Regions from separate parts of the Homo sapiens genome. Here regions 2, 3 and 4 are each linked to region 1. The links are contacts of gene promoters, found by promoter capture Hi-C in blood cells and fetal thymus (Javierre and others, 2016). All regions are on one chromosome and are shown on one strand. Each heading gives the region's core, a stretch centred on a gene start or on the middle of the fragment in contact. The rest is flanking DNA. Distances are from core to core; before and after follow the strand shown.

What was found. The method cuts DNA at HindIII sites, captures the fragments that hold promoters and counts their contacts. A CHiCAGO score of 5 or more calls a contact.
Region 2: a fragment that was not itself captured here is called in contact with the fragment with the promoter of TMEM11 in region 1 in 1 of 17 cell types (total B cells); the score reaches 7.5 in total B cells.
Region 3: a contact is called between a fragment that was not itself captured here and the fragment with the promoter of TMEM11 in region 1, in 1 of 17 cell types (neutrophils). The highest score is 10.1, in neutrophils.
Region 4: a contact is called between a fragment that was not itself captured here and the fragment with the promoter of TMEM11 in region 1, in 2 of 17 cell types (erythroblasts and neutrophils). The highest score is 5.5, in erythroblasts.

What each region holds. Positions count from the first base shown.
Region 1 is chr17:21,212,387-21,215,850 of GRCh38, reverse strand. It overlaps TMEM11 (transmembrane protein 11), which reads left to right and starts at 1,690. Exons shown (of 2, transcript NM_003876.3): 1 at 1,690-1,760. The coding sequence starts at 1,699. It overlaps TMEM11-DT (TMEM11 divergent transcript), which reads right to left and starts at 1,526. Exons shown (of 2, transcript NR_184102.1): 1 at 1,401-1,526. RefSeq lists enhancers at 709-918, 1,689-1,788 and silencers at 1,079-1,348, 1,469-1,608. The HindIII fragment of the contact is 13,322 bases long and covers 1-2,629 here.
Region 2 is chr17:21,091,564-21,095,027 of GRCh38, reverse strand. No RefSeq gene overlaps it. Among named protein-coding and RNA genes, the nearest start is that of LINC01563, 18 kb to the right of the region's middle. The HindIII fragment of the contact is 212 bases long and covers 1,573-1,784 here.
Region 3 is chr17:21,112,137-21,115,600 of GRCh38, reverse strand. No RefSeq gene overlaps it. Among named protein-coding and RNA genes, the nearest start is that of DHRS7B, 13 kb to the left of the region's middle. The HindIII fragment of the contact is 4,183 bases long and covers 1-3,464 here.
Region 4 is chr17:21,316,634-21,320,097 of GRCh38, reverse strand. No RefSeq gene overlaps it. Among named protein-coding and RNA genes, the nearest start is that of MAP2K3, 34 kb to the right of the region's middle. RefSeq lists enhancers at 885-1,561, 1,562-2,238, 2,576-3,085. The HindIII fragment of the contact is 4,272 bases long and covers 1-3,464 here.

The DNA.
Region 1 (3,464 bases), core at 441-2,940:
ACTAAAAATACAAAAATTAGCTGGGTGTGGTGGCACCACCTGTAATCCCAGGTACTCAGGAGGCTGAGGTAGGAGAATTGCTTGAACCTGGGAGGCGGAGGTTGCAGTGAGCCAAGATCGCACCACTGCACTCAAGCCTGGGCGACAGAGCAAGACTCTGTCTCAAAAAAAAAAAAAAAAGTTGGCTGGGAGGTAAAAGCATTTTAGGTAAAGCATAGAACATCTACGTATCTGCAAACCCTCTGAATTTACTAGCCTGGCAAGTTCCAGACGGGAAAGGTAGGCAGTTGAATTTGGAGAGCTAGGCAACTTCCAAACTAAGGAGGGGCTTCTTGATTGTGCTAAGGAATTTGAATCACACACTGTAGGTGATGAGGGACGGTGAGAGGATTGCAAGCAGCTAAAACTGTGGTAGAATGTCAGCTGGAAGGAAATCGAAAGGAATCCTCAACAAGGAGAGGGTCGCCTTTCCGTCTGCTGGCCCTCCTGCTGTGGCCTGCGGCGGGGTGGGAAGGGGGGTTCCACTACACAGAAGTGTGACGCGCAGGGCTGGGCTTCTTCTAGGCTGAATTCGGGACAGATTTTCGCATTTGTTTTGCTCAAGTATTTATGGGACCAATTAATATGTTTAGCAACGTTGTCTGTGGGAGCAGTAGAGGAACTGAGAAGTTCACAAACTGTAAGAGATCCTCCAAAGAGTCCACAGGTCTGAGGCAGCAGCACCTGGGAATCTCTGGGCTCCAGTTAGTCCTTCCTGACTTTGACTCGTTACAGCAGTGTCCAGACAGGGATATGTCGGGTCCTGTGGCAGGGTTCCCGTCAGGTGGGATGGTTTAGCCCCGCATCTGCCTTCAAAGATCCCGAGATTATGCCGTCGCAGCGGCCAGGGCAGGAGTGGGTGCGTGGCAGGGACTGAGTCTAAGAGGCCTGGAGGCCCTGTCTAAAACAGAGCTGTCGCTGGGCCCTCTCGCCTTCAAGCAGTTATCATACAGCTATTCCCCTTTCTTGTTTTCAGACCCTCTCCTCTAACAGCCTGCACCTGCAAGCAGGGACCTCCGTGGCAGCAGGGACAGCGTGTCTGTCTCGGCCTCCAAAGTACCCCGGAGTCTAAGAGAACTGGGGGAGGATGGTGCGGGAGCAGCGCCCGCCTCCAAGGAGGGCCCGGGCGGCGCCTCCCGCCCCTCGGTGACCTTATGGGCCAAGGCTGTGAAGGGCAGGCGTGGCGACGCGGAGGGGCCCGGCGCTAGTAGCCCGCAGACAGCGCGGCGGCCCCCAGCGGGAGAGGCAGCCTGGCGGCCAGGACAGCGCGGCCGGGCGCCTCCGCGCAGTGCTCTGGGAGTTGTAGGCACTTGCCTCTCCTCTCTCCTTCAGCTACTGGCTCTCGAAACTCAAGGACCTACCGGTGGGTGGGCGCCTGTGACTCCCAGGCTGCGAACGCCGGGAACTCAGTTTCTTCAGAAATGCTCGAACCAGGACGGCTCCTGGAGTCCTCGCGCCCTCGCAGAAGGACTACGGGCCCCGGCGACCCCGGGGGCGGGGCTTCCGGCGCGCTGCCTTGTGGGCACGGTAGTTCCGCCGGGTCTGGCTTCCGCCTGCCGAGCGGCCCCGGACCGCAGGCCGGACTACACTTCCCGTCGGCCCGCCTGCTCTCCCGATGCCGCCTTGGCGCGAGACGTTGGCAAGCAGAGTGTCTCCAAGATGGCCGCTTGGGGAAGGAGGCGTCTTGGCCCGGGCAGCAGTGGCGGCAGCGCCCGAGAGAGGTGAGATCCAAGGGCTTGTTGCCCCCAGTGCAGGCGGCTCAGCGGCCGGAGAGCCCAGCGCGGCCTCCGAGGGCTGCAGCAGCCTTCCTTCCCTGGTTTCCCCGCGCTCCCCCTACCCTCGCCGGGCATACTGGGTTCCAGTTCCGGAGGATCCGGGATCCGGGTGGGAGCGAGGTCGAAGGCCTCGGCGGAGAGCTTAGGGGAAGGGGCGTTAGCCGGGCTGAGTAAGGTAGGCAGCGGCCATGCGGGGCGGGGCCCGAGGCCGGGCCGTGCTGAAAGGAACTGGCGCCCAGCGCAGGCCTCAGGGACCCGCCTAGCTGCCCGCGGGCCGATCGGCTGCTGAAGCACCCTTCCCGCCTGGGCACGCGCGTGGCCATCTCGGCCGCGGCCCCAGACGTGTAGAGGAAGGCAGGGCCCCCGGAGAGAGAAAGAAGGGGAAGCCTTCACAGAGCAGGCCGGCCGCGGCAGGGGTAGTTTGATCTGCACGTTTACTAGGGAGCTTTAGCTCCCGCCAGATGTGTCTCTTCCGAGCCCAGAGCCGGCCACTTCCTCGAGGGAAGATTCTGAAGACTTTTGGATGGTTCTGTGCAAGCGCTCCTGCCGTAGAAGTCCTTTAAAGTGACCTTTCCTAATGAATGGTGTGTGGGCAGGGAGCTAGGAGCGTGTTTCTTCCAACAGGGACCTCCATTTGAATAACTGATTTCTAGAAGATGAGATTGGAGTAGTTTCCGTGTTTCATGTTCAAGTTGCAGTTTTTGCATCTGGGAAGCAGTTTCAGCTAGTGGAAACCACTAGAAGCTGTTCAGCCACTAGAAATTTGGGAGAAGATGTATTGGTGGAGCCACCTGGATTAACTGTCCGCTAAAGCTTGATTGTTATAGCAGCGGTCAGCAAAAAAGGAAAAGTTTTTGTTTTGCTGGTTCTCCCCCTCCCCGTCTTTTTGGTGAGGATTGTCTAACAGAAAAGTTATCTTCCTCTCAACTACTCTGCATTATTCCTTTTCTGTGACTGATTCCATCCCGTGTTCATTGCTATTGCTTGCAGATGGCTTTCCCAGCTGGGAAGATTCTTCCTGTTTGGCAGTTGTGATAGAATCCTTTAGCTTGCTTGCACTTTATTCTTTAGCCCAGTTATCCAGCGTTGCCCATTCTGCATTTCCTCTTCCTTGGAAAAGCAGTGGTAAACACACTTTTGTTTTTCTAACTCCCGCCTGGTATTAGATTGGACCATTTAAATAAGTTACCTCAATGGTTTTCAGATGCTCTTAAAAACTAGCAAACATTTTCAAGATATTCAATGCAAACAGTAATACGAAATAACCTGTTTAGAAAACAAAGTATTAGAAACATACGCCCTCTTGTTGGACTAAAAGCATCTGAAAAGAGCCGAATAGGGATGCCTCAGGCAGGGAACAGGAGCCTTGCCAGCACAGGTTAAGCTTTTATTGATCTAAGAAAATAGATGCTGAGAATTGTTTTTGTTTTGGCTTGAGACAACTGTTTATTCAAAATGGATCTGCAAATTAGCAGTGCATAGGCTGGATCCAGTCCTTGACTGTTGAACCTCAACAGTTTTTAAGAGAATTTAAATTAGTTGCCAGCAGATTTCATATAAAACGCTCCCTGAAAAGCTGGGTAGTGGCTGACTCTTTTTGGTCGGGACAAGTGCTTGGTTCCAGTTCTTGGTTCCTCACCTGACAGCTTG
Region 2 (3,464 bases), core at 429-2,928, 120 kb after region 1:
GTGGTGCTTATTGTTCAAATTATTATACAGATGTCATCAATTGTCATTGGAGGTTGCTTGTCTTCTTTTGATAAAAACCAGAAATTTCTGTCTTTGATTAATTAAAAACAAGATATGGTTTATATAAGATGCTAAGCTTTTGGTGTATTTCAAGGCTTCCTGGAAGCTTCTATATTCATGGCCTGTCTCAGAATGCAAGGTTTTTAGAAATTGAAAGCTTTTTGTTTTTATTTTATTTTATTTTGAGAGACAGGCTTTCACTCTGTCACCCATGCTGGAGTGCAGTGGTGTGATCATAGCTCACTGCAGACTCAAACTCCTGAGTTGAAGGGTTCCCCCCGCCATAGCCTCCCGAGTAGCTGGCACTACAGGTGCGCACCACTATGCTTGGCTAACTTTTTTTTTTTTGGTGGTGACAGGGTCTTGCTATTGTTGCCCAGGCTGATGTTGAATTCCTAGCCTCAAGCAATCCTCCCATCTTGGCCTCCCAAAGCCCTGGGATTACAGATGTAAGCCACCACGGCTGGCCTTCCTTTTTACTTTTTGAAGTGTAAATATGTTCTGGGTTGAAGAGTCTAATGAGTCAACATCAGACAGAGCCAGTCTCAACTACCTCATTGGGTTGTTATGAGGTTTAAATTATACATACAGTTGACCTTTGAACAATACAGGTTTGAACTGGATGAGTCTATTTATAAACGGATTTAAAAAAATAAAATGTGCCTGCCTCTTCTGTCTCCCCTTCCATCTCCTCCACCACTTCTTTACCACTCCTGAGACCCCAACACCAACCCCTCCTCCCCCTCTCCCTCCTCCTCTTTCTCCCCCTCATCCTCTTCTGCCTTAGCCTACTCAACATGAAGATGATGAGGATGAAGACTTTTATGACGACCCACTAAATATATTTTCTTCCTTATAATTTTATTTTCTCTTTTTTTCTGAGACAGTGTCTTGCTCTGTCACCCATGGTGGAGTGCAGTGGCACAATCTCAGCTCACTGCAGCCTTGACCTCCAGGCTCAAGTGATCCTCCCACCTCGGCCTCAGAGTATCTGGGACCACAGGTGTGCACCACTACTCCTGGCTAATTTTTGTATTTTTTGTAGAGACAGGAATTCACTATGTTGCCCAGGCTGGTTTCAAACTCATGGACTCAAGTGATCCTCCTGCCTTGGCCTCCCAAAGTGCTGGGATTACAGGTGTGCGCCACTGCACCCGGCCTGATTTTCTTTTCTTTTCTTTTCTTTCTTTCTTTCTTTCTTTTTTTTTTTTTTTTTGAGATAGGGTCTCTCTCTGTCACCCAGGTTGGAGTGCAGTGGCGGGATCTCGGCTCACTGCAACCTCAACCTCCTGGGCTCAAGCGATCATCCTGCTTCAGCTTCCCAAGTAGCTGGGACTACAGGTGTGCACCAGCATGCCCAGCCTGGTTTTCTAAATAATGGTTTCTTTTCTCTAGCTTACTTTATTGTTAAGAATACAGAGTAGAATATATATAACATTAAAAAAATGTGCTAATCAACTTTATGTTATCAGTAAGGCTTCCCATCAACAGTAAGCTGTTGGTAGTTAAGCTTTGGGGGAATCCAATGTTATATGCAGTTTTTCAACTGTGTAGGGGGTTGGTGTTCCTAACACCCCCCCACCCCCGCCCACCGATTGTTCAAGGTCAACTGTATATGGATGGATGGATGGGTGGATGGATGGATCTATGTATCGCAATAGAACAGGTCTTGGTACATAGTAACTACTTAATAAGTATCAGTCAGCCTTGTTATTGCTGAAGCTTATCAAGGCCTCAGAAAGCCAGCTTCACATCCTCAGCCACCACTAAAACTGTGTGAATTTGGGCCTCTGAGCCGCAGTCCCTTGTGGGTGAAATGGAAATTGATGCCTGCTTCATGGGGCAGTTGTAAAGACCACACAAACATAGATGAAAAAGGGGTGGCCGAGTGCAGTGGCTCATGCCTGTACTTCCAGCACTTTGAGAGGCCAAGGCGGGCAGATTGCATGAGGTCAGGAGTTCGAAACCAGCCTGGCCAACATGGTGAAACCCCGTCTCTACTAAAAAAATACAAAAAAAAAAAAAAAAAAAGGCTGGATGCAGTGACTCAAGCCTGTAATCCCAGCACTTTGGGACGCCAAGGCGGGCGGATCACCTGGGTCAGGAGTTTGAGACCAGCCTGGCCAACATGGTGAAACCCCGTCTCTACTAAAAGTACAAAAATTAGCCAGGCGTGGTGGCGGGCACCTGTAATCCCAGCTACTCAGGATGCTGAGGCATGAGAATAGCTTGAACCTGGGAGGCGGAGGTTGCAGTGAGCCAAGATCACGCCACTGCACTCCAGCCTGGGCAACAAGAGCAAGACTCTGTCTCAAAAAAAAAAAAAAAATTAGCTGGGTGTGGTGGCACACGCCTGTAATCTCAGCTACTTGGGAGGCTGAGGCAGGAGAATCACGTGAACCTGGGAGGTGGAGGTTGCAGTGAGCCACGATCATGCGACTGTATCCCAGCCTGGGTGACAAAAGACAGACTCTGTCTCAAAAAAAAAAAAAGAAGAAGAAGGTGGTGGGGGTGGTTTCAAGAAGCATAAGAGATATTAATATTGAATGTTTTCCCCAAAACAGCTAAATACAGGATAGTCTAATTCGTTTCAGAGAAGAACATTTCCACGTGCACTTCATTTTCATTTCACTTTTATTACATGAAATCTGTACTCAGCTCCTTCTCCATTTCTGCCAGCAAAACGTCACTTTGCAGGTCTGTCCTTTGCAAGTAATGCTGAGTAGTTCACTTCAGAACCAGGCCTCAAAAACTGCAAGTCTTAAAATTTAACAAGGGGGTCTCAGAAAGAACAGGGAAGGTCAGAAAAAAATGTTACTTATTTATTTTATTTTTGAGACAGTCTCACTCTGTTACCCAGGCTGGAGTGCAGTGGTGTGATCTCATCTCATTGCAACCTCCGCCTCTAGTTTAAGCAATCCTCCCACCTCAGCCTCCCAAGTATCTGGGATCACAGGCACGTGCCACCACGCCCAGCTAATTTTTGTATTTTTTGGTAGAGACGGGGTTTCACATGTTGGCCAGGCTGGTCTTGAACTCCTGACCTCAAGTGATCCGCCTGCCTCGGCCTCCCAAAGTGCTGGGATTACAGATGTGAGCCACTACGCCTAGCCCTTTTTTTTTTTTTTTTTTTTTTTTTGAGACAGTCTCATTCTGTCACCCAGGCTGGAATGCAGTGGTGCGATCACAGCCCTGCAGCCTCAACCTCCTGGGCTTGAGTGATCCTCCCACCTCAGCCTCCTGAGTAGCTGGGGCTACAGATGCAAGCTACTACACCCAGCTCATTTATGTATTTTTAGTAGAGACGGAGTCTCGCTATGTTGTTTAGGCTGGTCTCAAACTCCTGGGCTCAAGCAATCCTCCCATCTTGGCCTCCCAAAGTGCTGGGATTATAGGCATGAACC
Region 3 (3,464 bases), core at 307-2,806, 100 kb after region 1:
CTTAGGGCACAGAAAGAGGAAGAGAAGATGTAGAAGATGATCCTCAGAGAAGAGGATGAGAACAGGAATGCAAGTGACAGAAATACTAAAGCGTTTTCTTCATTTAATCCAGCATTAACTGATGATCAGTGTCATTGTTCTAAGCACAATCCCTAAGTAGGGCAATTGAGGAACATCTTTCAATATTTCAAATTTCATGTATGCCCCCATCTGAGCACTTCCATGATTCTATAGATATATTTACATATGTGCTGTGATGGTTAATACTGAGTGTCAACTTGATTGGATTCAAGGATGCCAAGTATTGTTCCTGGGTGTGTCCATCAGGGTGTTGTCAAAGGAGATTAACATTTGATTCAGTGGACTAAGAGAGGCAGATCCACCCTCAATCTGGATGGGCACCATCTAATTAGCTGCCAGTACAGCTAGGATAAAAGCAGGCAGAGGAACACAGGAGGACTAGACTGGCTGAGTCTTCCAGCTTTCATCTTTCTGCTGTGCTGGATGTTTCCTGCCCTCGAACAACGGACTCCAAGTTCTTCAGCTTTTGGACTCTTGGACCTACACCAGTGGTTTGCCAGGGGTTTTTGGGCCTCTGGCCACAGACTGAAGGCTGTACTGTCGGCTTCCCTGTTTTTGAGGTTTTAGGACTTGGGCTGGTTTCCTTGTTCCTCAGTTTGCAGATGGCCTATTGTGGGACTTCACCTTGTGATCCTGTGAGTCAATACTCCTTAATAAACTCCCTTTCATATACACATCTATCCTATTAGTCCTGTCTCTCTAGAGAACCCTGACGAATACATATGCAAAATGATGTATGTACAAGACTATGTAATACATCCTTATTTTTGATAGCAAAAGATTGAACCAACTCAAATATCCATTAATGGAAGCCTGGTTAAATCCATCGGAGTATAGCCACACACTGTAATACCATGAAACTCAAAGAAGTAACTCTATGCACCAACAGGAGAAGTCACTACATATCTTAGTGACATATATAAAGTTTAAAAAAGCAAAGTGAGACTTGATTTTACTGTGATAATATTAACAAATATTGGCTGGGCGCGGTGGCTCACGCCTGTAATCCCAGCACTTTGGGAGGCCGAGGTGGGCGGATCACAAGGTCAGGAGATCGAGACCATCCTGGCTAACATGATGAAACCCCGTCTCTACTAAAAATACAAAAAAATTAGCCGGGCATGGTAGCGGGTGCCTGTAGTCCCAGCTACTCGGGAGGCCGAGGCAGGAGAATGGCGTGAACTTGGGAGGCGGAGCTTGCAGTGAGCCGAGATCGCGCCACTGCACTCCAGCCTGGGCGAGAGGGAGACTCCGTCTCAAAAAAAAAAAAAAAAAAAAAAAAAATTAACAAATACTGCCCCCACCATTGTTAAAATTGGTTTGCCCCCCACCATTGTTAAAATTGGTTTGCGACCAACATTTTCTTGCTCAGAGATCTGTAGGTCAGGTGGTTTGGGCTGCCGATTAGGTTCACATGTGCTCCACATGTCTCTCATTTTGGGACCCAGTCTGAAGGTACAGAGGCTACCTGGGGCAAGTCCTTGTCATGGCAGATGGCAAGAGTGCAAGAGGTCTAGGGGGAACTTATCAGTCCTCCTAAAGCCTCTGCTTGGATATGACACACTTTCACTTGTGCCCAAACGAAGTACACTACATATGGCAAAGCCCAAAGTCAGCCAAAAAGAGAAGTGAACTCTACCACAATGGGGAGAGGTGACAGGAGTGAATATTTGCAGCCCAATCAAAACACAGATCCATAAGGAGCTAGGCTCAGAAACCACACAAAGGATGGGACATGGAAACTGGGATGGGGGGATAAGAATGAGGGAACAGGTCACTAAGTGAATTCTTTACTTTTTATTTATTGTTATTTTAATGTATTAACTTAATGCTTTTGAACCATGTGAATAAAATTTAAGTAACTGAGAAAAAATTAACAATGTGCATTATACTTTGTAAACTCCATCAATGTAAAATAATCAAAAGGGTCAGAATCTAATTTAAAGAGAGTTTATTCAGTCACAAAGTGTAAGGCTAGGCTACCAACACCAACTCCAAAGGAATGAGGTCAGCGTTTCAAAATAGGGACGTTTAGCGATTTCATTTGTATAGGCAGAGACAGAGGAGTTTTGCAAGATTACAACATTATTCATACAAGGATAGCACACGGTTACAGCAAATTGATTAATTATAGGTAGTACTTCTTTTGGGAAGGGTACATTTAACATTTTTTTTTTTTTTTTTGCAGAGGGTCTAATAATCATGAGGTTTCTGTCATCTAGTCTAAGCACAGCAGGACAAAAAAGAGAAGTTTGTTTTTTTTTTGAGACAGGGTTTTTTTTGTTTTTTTTTTTTTTTTTGAGACAGGGTTTTGCTCTGTCACCCAGGCTACAGTGCAATAGCATGATCTCGGCTCACTGCAGCCCCTGCCTCCTGTGCTCAAGTGATCCTCCTGTCTCAGCCTCCTGAGTAGCTGGGGCTACAGGCACATGCCACAATGCCCAGCTAATTTTTGTGTTTTTTGTAGAGACAGGGTTTTGCCATGTTGCCCATGCTGGTCTTGAAACCCTGGGCTCAGGTGATCTGCCTGCCTCAGCCTTCCAAATTGCTGGGATTACAGGTGTGAGCCACTGCACCTGGCCAGGAAGTTAATATTTAACAAGGGTCATTAATTAAGAAGGCAAGGCCAGACATGGTGGCTCACGCCTGTAATCCCAGTACTTTGGGAGGCCAAAGCAGGCAGATCACCTGAGATCGGGAGTTCGAGACCAGCCTGACCAACATGGAGAAACCCCGTCTCTACTAAAAATACAAAATTAGCCGGTGTGGTGGCGCATGCCTGTAATCCCAGCGATTTGGGAGGCTGAGGCAAGAGAATCGCTTGAACCCAGGAAGCAGAGGTTGCAGTGAGCCAAGATCACGCCACTGCACTCCAGCTGGGCAACAAGGGCAAAACTCCGTCTCAAAAAAAAAGAAAAAAGAAAAAAAAGAAGGCAGGAGGGTTTTGTCCCTAATGTCCTTTAGTTCTCTCTAGTCATTGTACAGGACAAGAAAACTAAGAAAGTGAGTTAATCTATAATCTGAGAGCAGACATTGTAACCACATGTGACTCAAATCACAGTCACATCTCTCTCGAGTCTTAACGTGTTTTTTGGGTGTTCCAACAGCTTTTACGTTTTATTTTCACATTTTCCCCTTTTCATCAAGATCTTTTGAAGAAAGCATTGTAGATGAACTCAATAGTTTTAACTCCTTTTTAATTTTTTAAAAATATTTATTTATTTATTTATTTATTTATTTTAGAGACAGGGTCTTACTCTTACCCAGGCCACAGTGCAGTGGCTCAATCACAGCTCACTGCAGCCTTAAACTCCTAGGCTCAAGTGATCCTCCTGCTTCAGCCTCTCAAGTAGCTGGGATTTCTCAGACTCTTTTTATGTCCA
Region 4 (3,464 bases), core at 554-3,053, 100 kb before region 1:
GTTTGGGAGGCAGACAAGGAAAGAATTTCCTAGGCTAGTTCACAGAGCAACTCCCCCATCCCCAACCAGAGCTTGCAGCTGCTGCTGCCTCGCCAGGCCTCCCCAACTCAAGTCCCCAATAAGGCTGGCCCAGAACAGGAATAGAGCAGCCCACGGCTTCTGCGAGGACAGAGGGGGTGGCTGCAGCTAAACCTGGCTTGGCAGGTGGCTCACTGGGGCTGGGCAGAGCCTCAGCTGGGGGTAGGGACTAGGGGCAGGACGCCTGGGTTTCTGGGCTTCCCTGGCTCTGCCTCACTCTCTGGTGGCCTCAGGAGGGGTCAGAGCCTCGCTGAGCCTCTGTAACCTCCAGGAGAAGCCGGCTGCCCTGGGCGTGAAGATACACAAGCTCTGATAAACATAGTACAGCCAGTGTATATATAGACCCTCCCACCTGGTTTCCAAAAGGATTTGCAACAGCTTTCACAAGAGGCAAAGAAATGAGCATTGAGAGTGAGCCAGGGTTTACACATGGGCCCCTCACGTCACAGGCCTGGGGAACTAGAACAGGGAAAAGAAGATGGAACCCAGATCCCTCCAGGAATCGCGTCTGTATGGGAGTGAGCTCCCCATCAGGGCAGGTATGCAAGCAGAGGCCAGCAGGCCTTGGTGGGGGTGTGGTTGAGAGGATTGGTGCATCAGGGAGAGGTGTGGTCAGATGCGAAGCCCCTGTTGGAAGATGAGGTGACTGGTCCTGCCTGCCCACCACAGCCCCTGCCCACAGGGAAACCAGGATGAGATAATGCTGGTGTTGGGGGCCTGTATTCATCTGTTTCATTGTTGCTATAACAAAATACCACAAACTGGATGATTTCTTCTTCATTCTTTTCTTAAATTGAGACAGGGTCTCAATCTGTCACCCAGGCTGGAGTGCAGTGGCAATCACCGCTCATTGCAGCCTCGAACTCCTGGGCTCAGGCAATCCTCCCACTTCAGCTCCTGGAGTAGCTGGGACTACAGACATGCACCACCACACCTGGCTTTTTTGTACAGATGAGGTGTTGCTATGTTGCCCCAGCTGGTCGTGAGCTCCTGGCCTCAAGCGATCCGCCCGCCTTGGCCTCCCAAAGTGCTAGGATTACAAGTGTGAGCCATGTGCCCAGCCCAGACTGGGTACTTTCTAAACAACAGAAATTTCTCAGGGTTCTGGAGGCTGGGAAATCAAGATCCAGGCCGGCATCTGACAAGGCCTCCCTGCTGTGTCCTCCCATGGCTGAAGGAAGGCCGAAAGGCAAGAGAGTGCTGGAGGCAGCAGGGGAGGGCAAAACGCCCTTTTATTACAACCAACCCCCTCGGTAACTAACCCACTGGGAGATGGCTGGCAGCATTCATCCATTCAGGAGGGCAGGCCCCCAGGATCTAATCCTGCTGTGAGGCCCCACCTCCCAACACAGCAGCTTGGGGGACATATTCAATCCTTCCGGCCCCTGCCGATTCCCTGGGGGAAGAGGGACTTGACCACAGTTTCGGGGCTGCTGGAGCCTGAGCCGCCAGGTGGGCAGCACGGGCCTCCTTGGGCTCCGCCCTCAGAAGCAGAGCTCGGCCCCGAGGGAGGGCATGGGAGCGGGAGCGCAGCCGGGACGCTAACCCCCGGCACGGGTGCTGCCTGCTGTTTGACTTGGAGCTCCTGGCTTCCCTTCTCTGAGGTGCAGAGTCCTCAGCCAGCACAACGCGCCTATCGGCTCAGTATCGGCTCGCTCCTGGAAAGCCTTCCCAGAGCAGACCCCCGGAATAAACGGAATGGCAGCACTGTCCCCAGACCACCTCCCGCACAGCCCTGCTGCCTGCTGCCTGCGCTGGGCCTTGCGGCAGCCTTCCTGCACCTGCCCTGTCTCCTGTGAGCAAGGCCGGCTCCTCCTGGTCTTGCGGGGGAGGCGGCCAGTGGGCAAGAATGAAAATGAATAAATGTGAAGAAAGTGCGGCAGGACAAGTGTGGTCAGGGAGGCATCTGAGCAGACCCCAAAGCGGGAGCACATCCGGGGAAGAGCGTTCCGGGAGGAGAACAAGACAGCTCCTGCAGAGGCCCTGCACCGCCAGGCTCGGGGTGAAGCGCAGGGAGCCAGGCACAGGGTACAGGGGAGGCAGGGGTGGGCGCCCGGGGTGGGGCACTGTGGACCATGAGGAGGCCCCCACCGAAGACGGTAGCTGCAGCAGGGATCTGGAGGAGAGGCTTCACGCCCTGGCCTCTAGAAGGGAATTCGCCAAATCCTCCCTCCGCAGCCTCCCTGCTCCTGAGCAGGCCTGTCTGCTGCATTTTTTTCTTTTTTCTTTTTTTTTTTTTTTTTGAGACGGAGTGTTACTCTGCCCCCCAGGCTGGAGTGTAGCACCTCGATCTCAGCTCACTGCAACCTCTGCCTCCCAGGTTCAAGCGATTCTCTTGCCTCAGCCTCCCAGATAGCTTGGATTACAGATGTGCGCCACCATGCCCGTCTAATTTTTGTATTTTTTTAAGTAGAGACGCAGTTTCACCATCTTGGCCAGGCTGGTCTCGAACTCCCGACCTCAGGTGATCCACCTACCTCAGCCTCCCAAAGTGCTGGGATTACAGGCGTGAGCCAACACGCCCGGCCTGTCTGCTGCAGTTTTAATGCTGCCTGATGAGGAGGCTCTCACGGCTGTAATTGAACAAAGTCTACATGCCTCTGCCATCTCCCAGTCCAGAGACTCATTAATCCCGGGCCTGGAAGAGGCGCCTGCCCGGACCCTGCTGCCTGACAGGAAATGCGGGCGTCCGGCCTCGGGGGAGGGGGGGGCGGCCGCTCCCCATCCCCATTCCCCCACCTCAGGGACAGGGAACAGGGGAGAGGGGCCCTGCCGCTTGAGACCTCCACGGGTAGTATAAACTGTCAAGGGCCTGTGCTTTGTAAATGTTAGTGACCTGCGCACTGGCTTCCGCACTCTGATGGCTGGACACGCTCTGTAAAAGCCAAAGGGTCCCATAAATGGCAAGGGAACTGCAAACGACTGGGGCTGCAGTCGTGCGCGGAGGAGCCTGCTCTCTGTGAAGGGCTGCGGCATCCAGCCAGGCCTGCGGCGTCCAGCCAGGCCTGCGAGCCGCGAGGGGCGCGGTGGCCTGCGGGGCGCTGGGTAACTTCAGGGGCGCGCACGGTAAATCTCTAGGCGTTGGGTCTGCTGCTGTCTGCAGGCTGCAGAGTCCCCGGAAGCCCCGAGGGCCGGGCCAGGGGGTGCACACGGGCAGGACAGCCGCAGAGGCCGAGAACTGGGCTGACGCGTGGCAAGCCCGCGGCCTCCAGCTGCGCCGAGGACGCACGAGGACGCGGACGGGCGCTCGGGGCCGGGCGGGGCTCCAGGACACGCGGTTGAAGCCGAGCTCTACCGCCCCCTGGCGGCTACAGGAGACAGAGCCTGGGGCCGCGCCCCGGCAAGGGATTCATTCCCTCCCTCCCCCCTTCCCTCCCTCCCTCATT